2 separate regions of the Homo sapiens genome follow, and region 1 is linked to region 2. The links are contacts of gene promoters, found by promoter capture Hi-C in blood cells and fetal thymus (Javierre and others, 2016). All regions are on one chromosome and are shown on one strand. Each heading gives the region's core, a stretch centred on a gene start or on the middle of the fragment in contact. The rest is flanking DNA. Distances are from core to core; before and after follow the strand shown.

The links. Contacts are between HindIII fragments. The CHiCAGO score rates a contact against its expected background, and 5 or more counts as called.
Region 1: a contact is called between the fragment with the promoter of CCDC136 here and the fragment with the promoter of HILPDA in region 2, in 1 of 17 cell types (fetal thymus). The highest score is 5.6, in fetal thymus.

What each region holds. Positions count from the first base shown.
Region 1 is chr7:128,787,585-128,793,959 of GRCh38, forward strand. CCDC136 (coiled-coil domain containing 136) reads left to right here and starts at 4,384. Exons shown (of 18, transcript NM_022742.5): 1 at 4,384-4,843. The coding sequence starts at 4,828. RefSeq lists silencers at 3,491-3,960, 3,499-3,767. The HindIII fragment of the contact is 10,437 bases long and covers 1,527-6,375 here.
Region 2 is chr7:128,453,570-128,459,700 of GRCh38, forward strand. It overlaps HILPDA (hypoxia inducible lipid droplet associated), which reads left to right and starts at 2,309. Exons shown (of 2, transcript NM_013332.4): 1 at 2,309-2,454; 2 at 3,632-4,849. The coding sequence starts at 3,700. The coding sequence ends at 3,891. It also overlaps the pseudogene EFCAB3P1. RefSeq lists enhancers at 337-1,043, 1,952-2,121, 5,806-6,100 and a silencer at 2,222-2,361. The HindIII fragment of the contact is 2,271 bases long and covers 88-2,358 here.

The sequences.
Region 1 (6,375 bases), core at 3,134-5,633, 340 kb after region 2:
GCAGAGAAATTTATAAATATGTTAGTAGATCTAAACAAGCCTTGAGACAGATGATGATGATAAAGATGGTGGTGGTGGTGATAATGGTGAGGATGACACTTCCTGGGGTTAGAAAGAAGGGGAAACTAAAATACTAGATAGAAATATGGGAGATGGTGGAGAAAGAAGAACAGAGTTAACATGTTCTAAGATCTATTATTCAGAAAAAGTATAGTGATATTGATTCACTGTAGAGCTAAGTAAGAATGTTTAGAAATATATAAAGAGGTAATCACTGAAAGAGTAGAAATAGAATGTGTAACTTCCAAATCAGTGGGGGCCAGAGGATAAATTAAAGCCACTGTCAGTGGTGTTTAAATTGGTCTAACTACACAATAGAGCAATTTGGCAACGGCTAGTGAAGTTTAAGATGCACCTACTCTATGACCCAGAAATTCCACTTCTAGGTATCCATCCTAGGAGAATGCATGAAATTGTCAAGTGCAGCACTGTTTTTAATATGGAAAACTGGAAACAGTCAAAATGTCAATCAGCCGAAAAATGGATAAATTGCAGTGAATTCAAGCAATGAAAGAGTTTTCAGTAGTTAAAATTCATAAACTGGAGCTATATGAAACAACATGGATAAATGCAAAAAAAAAAAAAAACAAAAAAAGTTTGCAGAAAAATGTGTACAATATAACACTATTTACATAAATTTCTAAAACACACAAGTCGCAATTATGTATTGTTGGTAGACACATTCATAAAAGGTAAAACATACATACAGGTAAAACTGGAAAACCATAAATAGAGGGCTACCTTGAATCAAATGTGGCAAGATCTGACTGGTTGTAGGATTTCAGTTCTGTGTGCATGGTTATTTGTTACGTTATTCTCTGTACCATACTTTTCTGCATGTTTCAAATACTCATATTTTTTTTCTTTTTAATGAAAGGATCTAGGCATTTAGAAATAAGGGTAAAGGGGGATAAATGGCTACATCAGTCCTCAAAGAGGATGATCTCCTGGGATGGGATTAGGAGGGAGGCTGAGCCCTGAGTCCAGGGATTACAGGGATTAATTCAGATCATCCCCCTAGGTTGATCACCTGGCTGACATGCCCACCACTCCTGGCCCCTCAGAGATGCATTTCTGGACCACAGCCCACCTCCCTCATATCTCTTAAGCTCTTTTCTCCCGCCTTTTAACTGCCTCCCTCCGCCCTCAACCCAGTACTGGTCTGGCCAGGGTTTGACCAAGTTTGGCTCCTGAAAATAGACTGGTTCAGGTCTCTCTTAAATGTTCTCCCAAATCAAGGGTGAAAGGTGACCTGCATGCCAGGAGCCAGGGAGAGATTAGTCCTAATACTCAGGATCAGAGCTCCCTGAGGAGAGCTTGAACCCTGGATGTCACCATCGACAATTTCCCTGCTGTGCCTCCCTACATTCACCAAGAGGTCAGCAGTCAAGGCCAACCGCTAACGTGGCCCTGCTGGCGGAGGCAGAACCAGGAGGAGCTGCGCTGGGCAGAAAGAACAGCCAGTAAGCTTCCAGAACTAGTCTTTGCCAGTTCCCAGAGCACTGCATCCCTCAAGCCCCCAGTGCAGCCCCTTTCTACCACCCCTGACAAATGCTCTGCTCCCCAAATCTGGACAGGCTTGGCGTCTGCAGTAAACCCTCTGCAGAAGGGGTCTGGGTGGGCTTGTTCAACTTTCCCCACAACTGTGTCACCTTGGCCACAGGATCTGGAGTAGAATCTTGTCATCTGGGAGCAAAGAAAACATTCTTGATCTCTGCTCATCATCTCTCTGCTGAGATAATGAGAGAGGCAGAGGAAGAAAAAAGGAGCAAGGAGTTGGGGGAGGGAGAGAGACTTATGGGCAACATCATCATTAATAGGCAACATTTAACACCACAAATATGAAATCATGTTAAATGATAAGACAGGGCATTAACTGGGTAGCTGGGAGATTGACCTTTAACTCATTTATCCTGTGTCAGAAACTCTGTCAGATGCTGGAAATACAAAGATAACTAAGATCCCCCTAACCTTCAGGAAACTGGGCAGAGCCCGGACAACCCGGAGGGCCTGGTGCTGTTACAGACAAATAGGGGCGAGCACCACAAAAGCGCCTAGTGGGGCAGGGATGGGGTGCCAGTCAGAGAAGGCCACCTGGAGGTGACCCCCAGCTGAAAAGGAGGGGGAAGTCCAGGCAAAGAAGGGCTTCCTTCCCGTGGAACAGGGATGGCTTGTGGACGTGGGAGCCTGTGGGATGTCAGAGACATTTGAGCCAGAGCAACTCCATCTTGAATAGAAGCTGGGTAAAATGAGGCTGAGACCTACTGGGCTGCATTCCCAGACGTTTAAGGAATTCTAAGTCACAGGATGAGATAGGAGGTTGGCACAAGACACAGGTCATAAAGACCTTGCTGATAAAACACCTTGCAGTAAAGAAGCCGGCCAAAACCCACTAAAACCAAGATGGCAGTGAGAGTGACCTCTAGTAATCCTCACACTGTTACACTCCCACCAGTGCCATGACAGTTTACAAATGCCATGGCAACATCAGAAAGTTACCCTACATTGTCTGAAAGGGGGTGTCAGGAATAAACCACCCCTTGTTTAGCATATCATCAAGAAATAACCAAAAAAAGCAGCCCTTGGGGCTGCTCTGTCTATGGAGTAGCCATTCTTTATTCCTTTACTTTCCTAATAAACTTGCTTTTAGTTTATCCTATGGACCTCCCTGAATTCTTTCTTGCGTGAGATTCAAGAACCCTCTGTTGCGGTCTGGATCCGGATCCCTTTCCTGCAGCGGGGGGAACGCAGACAATACTAGCCCTCGACCTGTGAGTGGATGTGCCAGAGAGGGGATCCGCGTGTGTCCCTGGCTTAGGAATCTTCCAGCCATTTCCTGGATGTGCTGGGGAGCCCCTGTTCCCAACTGTGCCCACTTCTATCCTTGCCGAGACCTGCCGAGATGTGAGAACTGCCTCTTCAAGAGCCGGCACCCAGTAGTCATAGCCTGAATAAACGAATGGTTGAAGACGTGAAATAAGCCCCCTGGGCTTCCAAATCTCCCTTCCACGAGAGTGAACATCAGTCGTGCCCACTCTGAGCGGGCTACTGTGGGGGCGTGGCTCGCAGCCCACCGGGTGTGGGACCGGAAGGGAAGACAGGGCGGAGGAGAGGGGGTCTTCCGGCCCTGAGGCTTGATGGGGCCACCGGAGGGCTCCTCCTAAGAGGGTCCTTGGCCCTGGCTCGGTGGGGGGTCGCGGAAAGCGGAGAGGTCAGGGCCCTGCCGTTCGCCCATCCGGGCCTCGACTTCCCTCCTCCGGCCCCCAGGCTGCCGAGGGGCCACCGGGCAGGGGTGGGCAGGGCCTGGGGCCGGAGTCAGCGCGGACTGCTAGGTGGGGGCGCCGGCCGGGCGGGGGAGGGAGGGAAGGAGGGGCGCGCGTGTCTGCGCTTTTGGAGGAAACAGTCCCACCTCGTCCTTTGCCGTCCCCATTGCTGAGCATGACCGGGCCCTGACACCTGGTGCAGAAGGGTCCCTGGGCACAGCAGACCCCGGGGGGACCCGCCGCCAGAACCAGGGGATCTCGCTCCTCCCTCTTGGGGCAGCCATAAGCCTAGGAGCTCCTGACGCTGTCCGGGCCCCGCGGCTCCCCGCGCTCTCTAGGGGAGAGCCTTGGGGCGTATCCGGGGTCGCGCTCACCCTCCCGCGCCGCCCCCTGCACGGGCTCGGAGCTCCCGAGTGCTGGGAGGGCTTCCGGGCGGCGGCGAGCGGCGGGGGGCGGTGTCAGGAGGCCCGGCCAGGCCCCGCCCCCTCGTCCGCCCTCCCTCCCTCCCTGCGCACCCGGCTCGGGTCCCCGGGCTCGCGGCTGCGGCTTCTGCTCAGGGAGGCGGAAGGCGGCGGCGGGAGCGGTCATGGAGGCGGGCGCCGGAGCCGGCGCGGGAGCCGCGGGCTGGAGCTGCCCGGGCCCAGGTCAGAGCCGCCCCTCCGTCACCTGTCTACCGCCCCTCCTTTCTCTCCTCCATCCCTCCTCCTTCCAGACCCCCAGGTGCTCCCGGCCTCCGCGGCTCCCCTTTCTCCGCCCAAAGTCTTCCTCCCTCCATCCTGGCCTCCACCGGGGCCCGGTCTCCATCCTTCCGGCCTGGGACTGAGGCTTCCGCGCACCGGCCGCATCCTGCCTGGTGGTCCCTCCCCAGCGCGTCTCTCCACTTCAGTCCGACGGTGCTTCCAGCCTTCGGGACTGCAGACCCTACACCTCCTGCAGCCCCGGAGACTCCTGAGCGCGGGGCGAGGGTGGGGTGGGCAAGGTCCAGCGAGAGAATGGGAGGAGAGGGGAGGGGAGCGGTCGCAGCCCTACCCCTTCCCGCACGCCCCCCACTCCTCCCTCCCTCCATCTGTAGGCCACCTCAGCCTTTCAGCCTCTTCTTCACTGGCTCCCGCCCTCTTTCAGTCTTGGCCCTCTCCTCCCTGTCCCCCCGGACTAAATACGCACACCCCCTCTTTCTTTCTGTGCAAGCAAGAGGGTCCTGGAACAGCGGGTTCTGAGGAGGCTGGGAGGCAGGGCTGAGAGGTGGCCGAGAGAGAGGAGTCGCAGAGCCGCCAGAGTGAGTCAGGCACCTCCACTGGGATTACAGATCCCAGAGCCTCGAGGAGCTGGAAGACATGTCCCCTTCTTTCCTCTGCACCCCAGCCCGCAGCCAGCCCCCCACCCCCCAGCCCCTCCTTTCTCCCTGCTCTCAGGACCCACAGTGACCACTCTAGGCTCCTATGAGGCTTCCGAGGGCTGTGAGAGGAAGAAGGGCCAACGCTGGGGGTCCCTGGAACGACGGGGGATGCAAGCTATGGAGGGTGAGTTTTCCCAAAAGGCTTCTTTCTTTCCCCTCCCCTCCTCCCTTAATTCCCTTCTTTCCTCCCTCTGACCCCCAGGCCTCTGAGCCAGGACACAGCCCTTCCCTCAGTTCATCTTAGCCCCTCTTCCTGCAGCTCAGAGCTCCAGCCCTTCCCAGGGCTCAGGCTTTGACAGAAGTTCAGGATGCATCCCTTCGGGACCCCAATCACCCCCCAGCTAACCAGGTTATGTGTCCCGAGGGAGCTGCCAGACAGAGAAAGAGGCCTTGTTGGACAGAGCTTTGAAGCAGCCTTTCAGCAGGGGGTTTGTCCTCACTGCCTGCCGACCCAGATCCCAAGCTGTCTCTTATTTTAAAAAGCAAGGAACTGGGCATGTGAATTGTCTTTCTGGGGCCACCAACATTAACTTCGAATGGAAGCCTGTGGCTTTGGTTCTTTAGGATACCTTATTGCCTGAAAGAGAGAGCCTAGGAGGGGGCGCGTGAGGCCATCCTCCCAACACACGTGTATCCCCACCACACCCATGTGACTTGGCAGTTGCTGCCAACACCAGGCCCCTGGAAGGACGCTGGTCCATTTGCCAGTACTTCCTGTGAAGTGTTGCACGTTGCACATTCAGTATGGGCAAACCTGCTCCCCCTAAGGGGGACAGATGGCACGAAGGGTCCCAGTTGAACCTAAGGCTGCTGATATTAGATAAAGTAAGACCAGAGATTCAGAATTTTAAAACAAAGCAAACAATCACCATCCAGACAACATTTTGCTATTTATAGGGACTGCGTTGCAGTAAAGGAGCGGGTGCTCACAACCAGAGGCTGGGGGCCAGCACCAAACCCCAGTTTTTTTAATGCATTAAAATGGTAGGCTTTCTTTTACACACAAGTACAGCCTAAAACTTCCCCTGAAATCTACTTTGTGGTCAGCAGAGTAGGAGGGGCCTCATATGGCTCAGCTAGGGGAGAGGAGACCTTGTGACATGCAGCAGGGAAAAACAAGGTGGACCTTGTAGAAAATTTCAAACAGGTATTTAATAATATACATTTGAAAGGGCGCCCGAGTTTGTCCAATGAAACCTCTACAATCAGATATTTTCTTTCTCTACCTGCTGACGGGCAATGTTTTCTTATTATGGAAAGGCTGATTTTTCACAAGCCACCTGGATAGTTTTTGTTTGGTTGTTTTTGTTTGTTTGTTTGTTTGAGACGGAGACTCACTCTGTTGCCCAGGCTGGAGTGCCAGTGGCTCGATCTCGCCTCACTGCAACCTCCAGTTCCCAGGTTCAAGCGATTCTCCTGCCTTAGCCTCCCAAGTAGCTGGGATTACAGGCGTGTACTACCACGCCCAGCTAATTTTTTTGTATTTTTAGTAGAGAAGGGGTTTCACCATGTTGACCGGGCTGGTTTGGAACTCCTGGCCTCAAGTAATCCACCCACCTCAGCCTCCCAAAGTGCTAGGATTACAGGCATGAGCCAGCATGCCTGGTCAGTTTTGTTTTGTTTTTTAACTTTCAAGAAATCTCCAAACTGTAACTG
Region 2 (6,131 bases), core at 1,059-3,558:
GTACTTACTTCTAAACTCTACCCCACACTGCCTTGGGTTGTTAGTTATCTTATCTTATTCAGGTCTTGTTTACTCAACCAGGTGACAAGCTTATTTAGAACAAGAATCTGGCTTTATACTTTTTAGCAAAATAATAGCTACTATTTGTTGAGCATATATGACATACTCTTTATGGGCATTATTTCCAACCCTCACAACAACCCTGTTTTACAGATTATTTTCCTCATTTTACAGATAAGGAAACTAAAGTTCAAAGGGGTCAGTTAGCCTGGCCAAGGTGTTGAAGGCAGGACTAAATCCTGATGCAGGTAGCTACATTTGTAGCTGACAGAATGGTAAAGCATAGAGCTGCCCTCACCCAAACCCTTCTTATTTCCAACTGGCATGACCTTTAGACAATGGCAGGGAATATGGGGAGAAAGAATTGTTGGAGAGGTGCCCATCCCTTCTTCCAGCTGTGTGAAGTATAAATTTAGAACTCAAACTAAGTAGAACTCAAATGGTCATTGTAGAATTCCTGCATTCATTCAGCAAGCCTAGGCTGCTAATGAGCAAAACCCCTCACTGGGAGTTTTGTAGTTGATGATACAGATAATGTTAAGATTCATAGAATGTTTTTTATGTGCCAGGCATTGTTCTAAGCGCTTTATATGGATTAATTCATTTAATATCAGGTTAAGACTGTTATGATCTCACAGAACAGCTGAGGAAACAGAACTACAAGAAGGTTAAAGGGTTCGCCCAAGGCCTTCACCTGGCAAAGTAGTGGCGTTTGGATCTGGCAGTGATTTCGCAGCTTGAGACCTATTTAATAACAGTGTGAGAGAAGGGTCACACAGTCAAGCAAAAAAACAGACGAAACTCTGGTATAGCGAAGGACCAAAAGTTCTGCGGGCTGAGCAGGAAAGTTGGCTCCAAATGTCTGCCTGCCTGCCAGCAGACCTCCAGCCCCAACCTTCTGCTTTCCCGGCTTCCCCACCCCCTCATTCCCGACAGACCACAGCCAGCCAGCCAGGAAAGGAGGGGAAAGGTCGCAGTGGGGATGGCTCCTCCCTTCCCGTCTTAGAGCCCTTCTTAAGCAGAGCCCGCCGAGCTCGCTGAGATGTGGAAAGTCACAGGGTTCTTTCCCATCCGGCACGGGCACTTGACCCGGGTACACGGAACCGCCAGTTCTAAAGCCACCAGCGGCCTTCCCTTCCACGGCGTGTACACCCCTTCCCGGGGGTCCTCCCCATTCCCAGTGTCTCTCCGGGACTCTACTTTCTGAGATCCCCCGTTGCGTGCTCTCAAGACAGACCGCACAGTCTTGGCTGGGTGGGTTCGGGGGTGATTAGTAAGGCAGCCTAGCCCCCCAAATCTGGACATAAGGCTGGTCTGTGACCTCCTGGCTCTTTAGTTCAAGCCGAAAGCACCCTTAAAAATCATCTAGCGGCCGGGCGCGGTGGCTCACGCCTGTAGCCCCAGCACTTTGGGAGGCAGAGGTGGGAGGATGGCTTGAGATCAGGAGTTCGAGACCAGCCTGGGCAACATAGCGAGACTGTCTCTATTTAAAAAAAAAAAAGAAGAAGAAGAAGAAAAATCATCTAGTGGCCAATGTCTTCATTACAGATGAGAAAACCGAGGCCCATTTAAATACCAAGTGACTTGCCCATATGCAGTTAGGATCCCACACCAGGGCCAGGAGTATTTCACGTTTTCTGAAGCGACACGACAAACTCTCATAGAAAGCAGAGCTTGCAGAGCTTAATATGTTGCACAAGGGCCTCACCATTCCAGAGATACCGATGGCAACTGAAACTCGGGATTTGGAATCTTGGTACAGCTATGAAGTGAAACAAAACCAGCTCTTCAGTCCTTGAAATGAAGAAAATAACGAGTGGGGTAGGGGTCTGGTGCCCTCTGACAATTTAGTGCACCCGAAATCTCTGGGGAAGAACCCACCCTTCACGGCGGGGCTTCACGGACACGAAGGCCATCGGTGTTTTTCACCTACTGGGGAGAAGGGATATGTGCTCTCTGACTCCTTCAAATGTTTTCTACAGCAGAGATGGCAGTCGAGATTAATACACACGCCTCGTCTCACTCCAGAACACAATGACTCAAAACCGCACGACGTGTACTTTTGGAAACAGCTCCGCGGGAGAGCACCCGGGACAATCCCCAAACCCCGTTGCCCGCGGGGTGGGGCCGCGGACGTGCGCCACGTCGTGTGCGTCCCGGGCGTGCGTGCGGCCTCCAGTGCGCGTGCGCGTACCCTCCTGGGGCGTGCTCGCGGCTATAAGGGGCGGAGGCTGGGCGGCGTTGCTCTGCGCTCTGCGGCTGACGGCGCTTTTGTCTCCGGTGAGTTTTGTGGCGGGAAGCTTCTGCGCTGGTGCTTAGTAACCGACTTTCCTCCGGACTCCTGCACGACCTGCTCCTACAGCCGGCGATCCACTCCCGGCTGTTCCCCCGGAGGTGAGCGGCCCTGTGGGCTTCCCCGGCTCCCCACCCCCATCGCTAGAGTGCTCGCCGCGCTAGCAGCCTCGCGTTCCAGGGCTGGGGGTGCGCCGCCGGGATCCTCTCTGATCGCCCACGCCCCATCTGGGGTCCCCATTCAGCCGTCAGCCCTGTTTTGTCCTAAGGTGGTCCTAACTAGGATCCACGTGGCCCATCCCACGCCCACAGGTGCTGAGTTAGGCATCCCTGCCATGCCCTCCCAGAGCACCTTCACGATCTCCTTGCTGTCCCAACACTTAGCGTGTTGCGTGTTAACTACCCTTTGTCTATAAGGTTTGCAATGTGGCCCTAGTATCTTCCAGGGTACCTAACACATTGCAGATATTCATGGTATGTTTGTTAAATAAATGAACTTGATAGATTTGACCCTCATAGAGTTATTTGGACTTGCAAAAAGTTTGTAGTTAACTCCAATCTGTGATGTGGGAGAGACTTCTAGGCAGGTTCCTTTCTCCAGGGCATGTTCTTATATTTCCCATTACCCACCACCCCCCTGCAAAAGGACTGGGCCTATTTCAGGAAGGTGACTGATGCCTGCACTGTAGCACAGGGGTTGTGTATTGTGCCTTGCAGGAACAAAATTTTCAATAAAGTAAATGTTTGTTTGTTTGTTTTTGAGACGGAGTTTTGCTTTTGTTGCCGAGGCTGGAGTGCAATGGCGCGATCTTGGCTCACTGCAACCTCTGCCTCCCGGGTTCAAGCAATTCTGCCTCAGCCTCCCGAGTAGCTGGGATTACAGGCATGTGCCACTATGCCCGGCTAATTTTTGTATTTGTAGTAGAGACAGGGTTTCACCATGTTGGTCAGGCTGGTCTCGAATTCCTGACCTCAGGTGATCCACCCGCCTCGGCCTCCCAGAGCGCTGGGATTACAGGTATGAGCCACCGCGCCTGGCCTAAGAAAGTAAAAGTTTTAAGAAGTGTTCTTGAATTAGTCCAAGAAGCAACACTGGCTCCGCAGCCATGAAGTTTGCAATGTAAAATATTCTTGGAGAGTTGCTGTGCAACTCCCTGGTCCCTGTGTCCCTCACTGGCTAAGCCTCTCCTTCAGCCCTGTGAGAGGACAGAAGAGTCAGGGCTGGATGCATGCATATCCCCAAAAGGCTATAGATTCATCCTTTCCTCTTTTTTCTCAGGGTCCAGAGGCCTTTCAGAAGGAGAAGGCAGCTCTGTTTCTCTGCAGAGGAGTAGGGTCCTTTCAGCCATGAAGCATGTGTTGAACCTCTACCTGTTAGGTGTGGTACTGACCCTACTCTCCATCTTCGTTAGAGTGATGGAGTCCCTAGAGGGCTTACTAGAGAGCCCATCGCCTGGGACCTCCTGGACCACCAGAAGCCAACTAGCCAACACAGAGCCCACCAAGGGCCTTCCAGACCATCCATCCAGAAGCATGTGATAAGACCTCCTTCCATACTGGCCATATTTTGGAACACTGACCTAGACATGTCCAGATGGGAGTCCCATTCCTAGCAGACAAGCTGAGCACCGTTGTAACCAGAGAACTATTACTAGGCCTTGAAGAACCTGTCTAACTGGATGCTCATTGCCTGGGCAAGGCCTGTTTAGGCCGGTTGCGGTGGCTCATGCCTGTAATCCTAGCACTTTGGGAGGCTGAGGTGGGTGGATCACCTGAGGTCAGGAGTTCGAGACCAGCCTCGCCAACATGGCGAAACCCCATCTCTACTAAAAATACAAAAGTTAGCTGGGTGTGGTGGCAGAGGCCTGTAATCCCAGCTCCTTGGGAGGCTGAGGCGGGAGAATTGCTTGAACCCGGGGACGGAGGTTGCAGTGAGCCGAGATCGCACTGCTGTACCCAGCCTGGGCCACAGTGCAAGACTCCATCTCAAAAAAAAAAGAAAAGAAAAAGCCTGTTTAATGCACAGGTGTGAGTGGATTGCTTATGGCTATGAGATAGGTTGATCTCGCCCTTACCCCGGGGTCTGGTGTATGCTGTGCTTTCCTCAGCAGTATGGCTCTGACATCTCTTAGATGTCCCAACTTCAGCTGTTGGGAGATGGTGATATTTTCAACCCTACTTCCTAAACATCTGTCTGGGGTTCCTTTAGTCTTGAATGTCTTATGCTCAATTATTTGGTGTTGAGCCTCTCTTCCACAAGAGCTCCTCCATGTTTGGATAGCAGTTGAAGAGGTTGTGTGGGTGGGCTGTTGGGAGTGAGGATGGAGTGTTCAGTGCCCATTTCTCATTTTACATTTTAAAGTCGTTCCTCCAACATAGTGTGTATTGGTCTGAAGGGGGTGGTGGGATGCCAAAGCCTGCTCAAGTTATGGACATTGTGGCCACCATGTGGCTTAAATGATTTTTTCTAACTAATAAAGTGGAATATATATTTCTACTGTGTGTCATGTTGACTTCTGCTCTTGAAATTCGTGGTAGGGAGGGTCTTAATTTCTAGACCTGAGGTTTAATTTTAACATCTCAATACTTTGGAGCAGGAAAGTGCTTAAATCACTTTGTTTAAAACATAGTATCAGTAGACTTCTGAATTTGGGGGCAGAGGCAGTTGGGTCTGCCATGTATCAACCAGTTATGTGAGCCTAGGCCACGATTATTGCAGGCCTGTCATGACTAGATCTGTAAAGAAGAAGAAAAATGATCACCACTTCCAGCCCCTCTCCTTGAGTCTCTGGGGCAAAGAGGACTATCAGTCCAGGAGGCTGTGGGCTTTTTCTTTTGTACTCTTCAGCGTGTTTTACTTACCCACCAAAAAGGCTGCTTAATTCAGATTGTTCTCAAAGTCAGTTGGTAAAGTGTCCACACCACACAGATGATTATATCTGCTCTCCCAGATCTAAGCAACTTGGCCTTTACTCAAAAGTTGGAGGGGTTTTTTTTTCTTGTATCCATCACTCTTGTACTTCCTGTCCCACGTACAATTGTATTCACTCCTTTGCCCTTCAGAATATATTTATTTACACTCCCATCTGGGCGTGTGCATCATTTTATTAACTTGACTGACTTTTGCTAAAGCGCAACAATGAAGTACAGTGTCTTCTGTTAAGCCAGTTTTGCTTCCTGAGTGTTCTTAAAATGTCACTACCCTAGAAGCCTGTGGGTTAAGCATCACTTTCATTTATTGCACAGTGGTTGTCACTAGTGTTATTTATCAAGTATTTCCAGTTTCCCACCTTTCGGGTACATGGTAAATTGGTCCCCTTGTGGCTGGCAGGGTTTATATGACTGTTACTTTGTTAGCATAGTACTACTCTCAAAAGTCTATTTGGCTTTTTCTCTGGTTTCAGTTTCATGTGCCAGTAGTTACCCTCTTCTAGTCATATTTCTTATATTTGATATATTTTCTCATTCTCATGCTTCTAATTTGGGGTATTTTTGAACCTTCAATTGGAGAGCCTGCACCTTAAGTCTCTCCTCCAAGTGGCTTAGTTTAATTGAAGTGATCTGTGTGCCACCACCCCCTTGTGGTTGGATGGAGCCATGTCATTAGTTCTGGCCAATGAGCTGTGAGTGGTAGTGGCTTGCGTTAATTCTACGTGAGAGCATTTCAGTGCTGGAGAAACCTGCGAGGACCTCTTTTTCCCTCTGTGCAGTGACCAGCAGTGCTTCCTATGGAACTGTTCATTAGTGTAGGTCCTGGAATGAGGATGCATGGCGCAGGG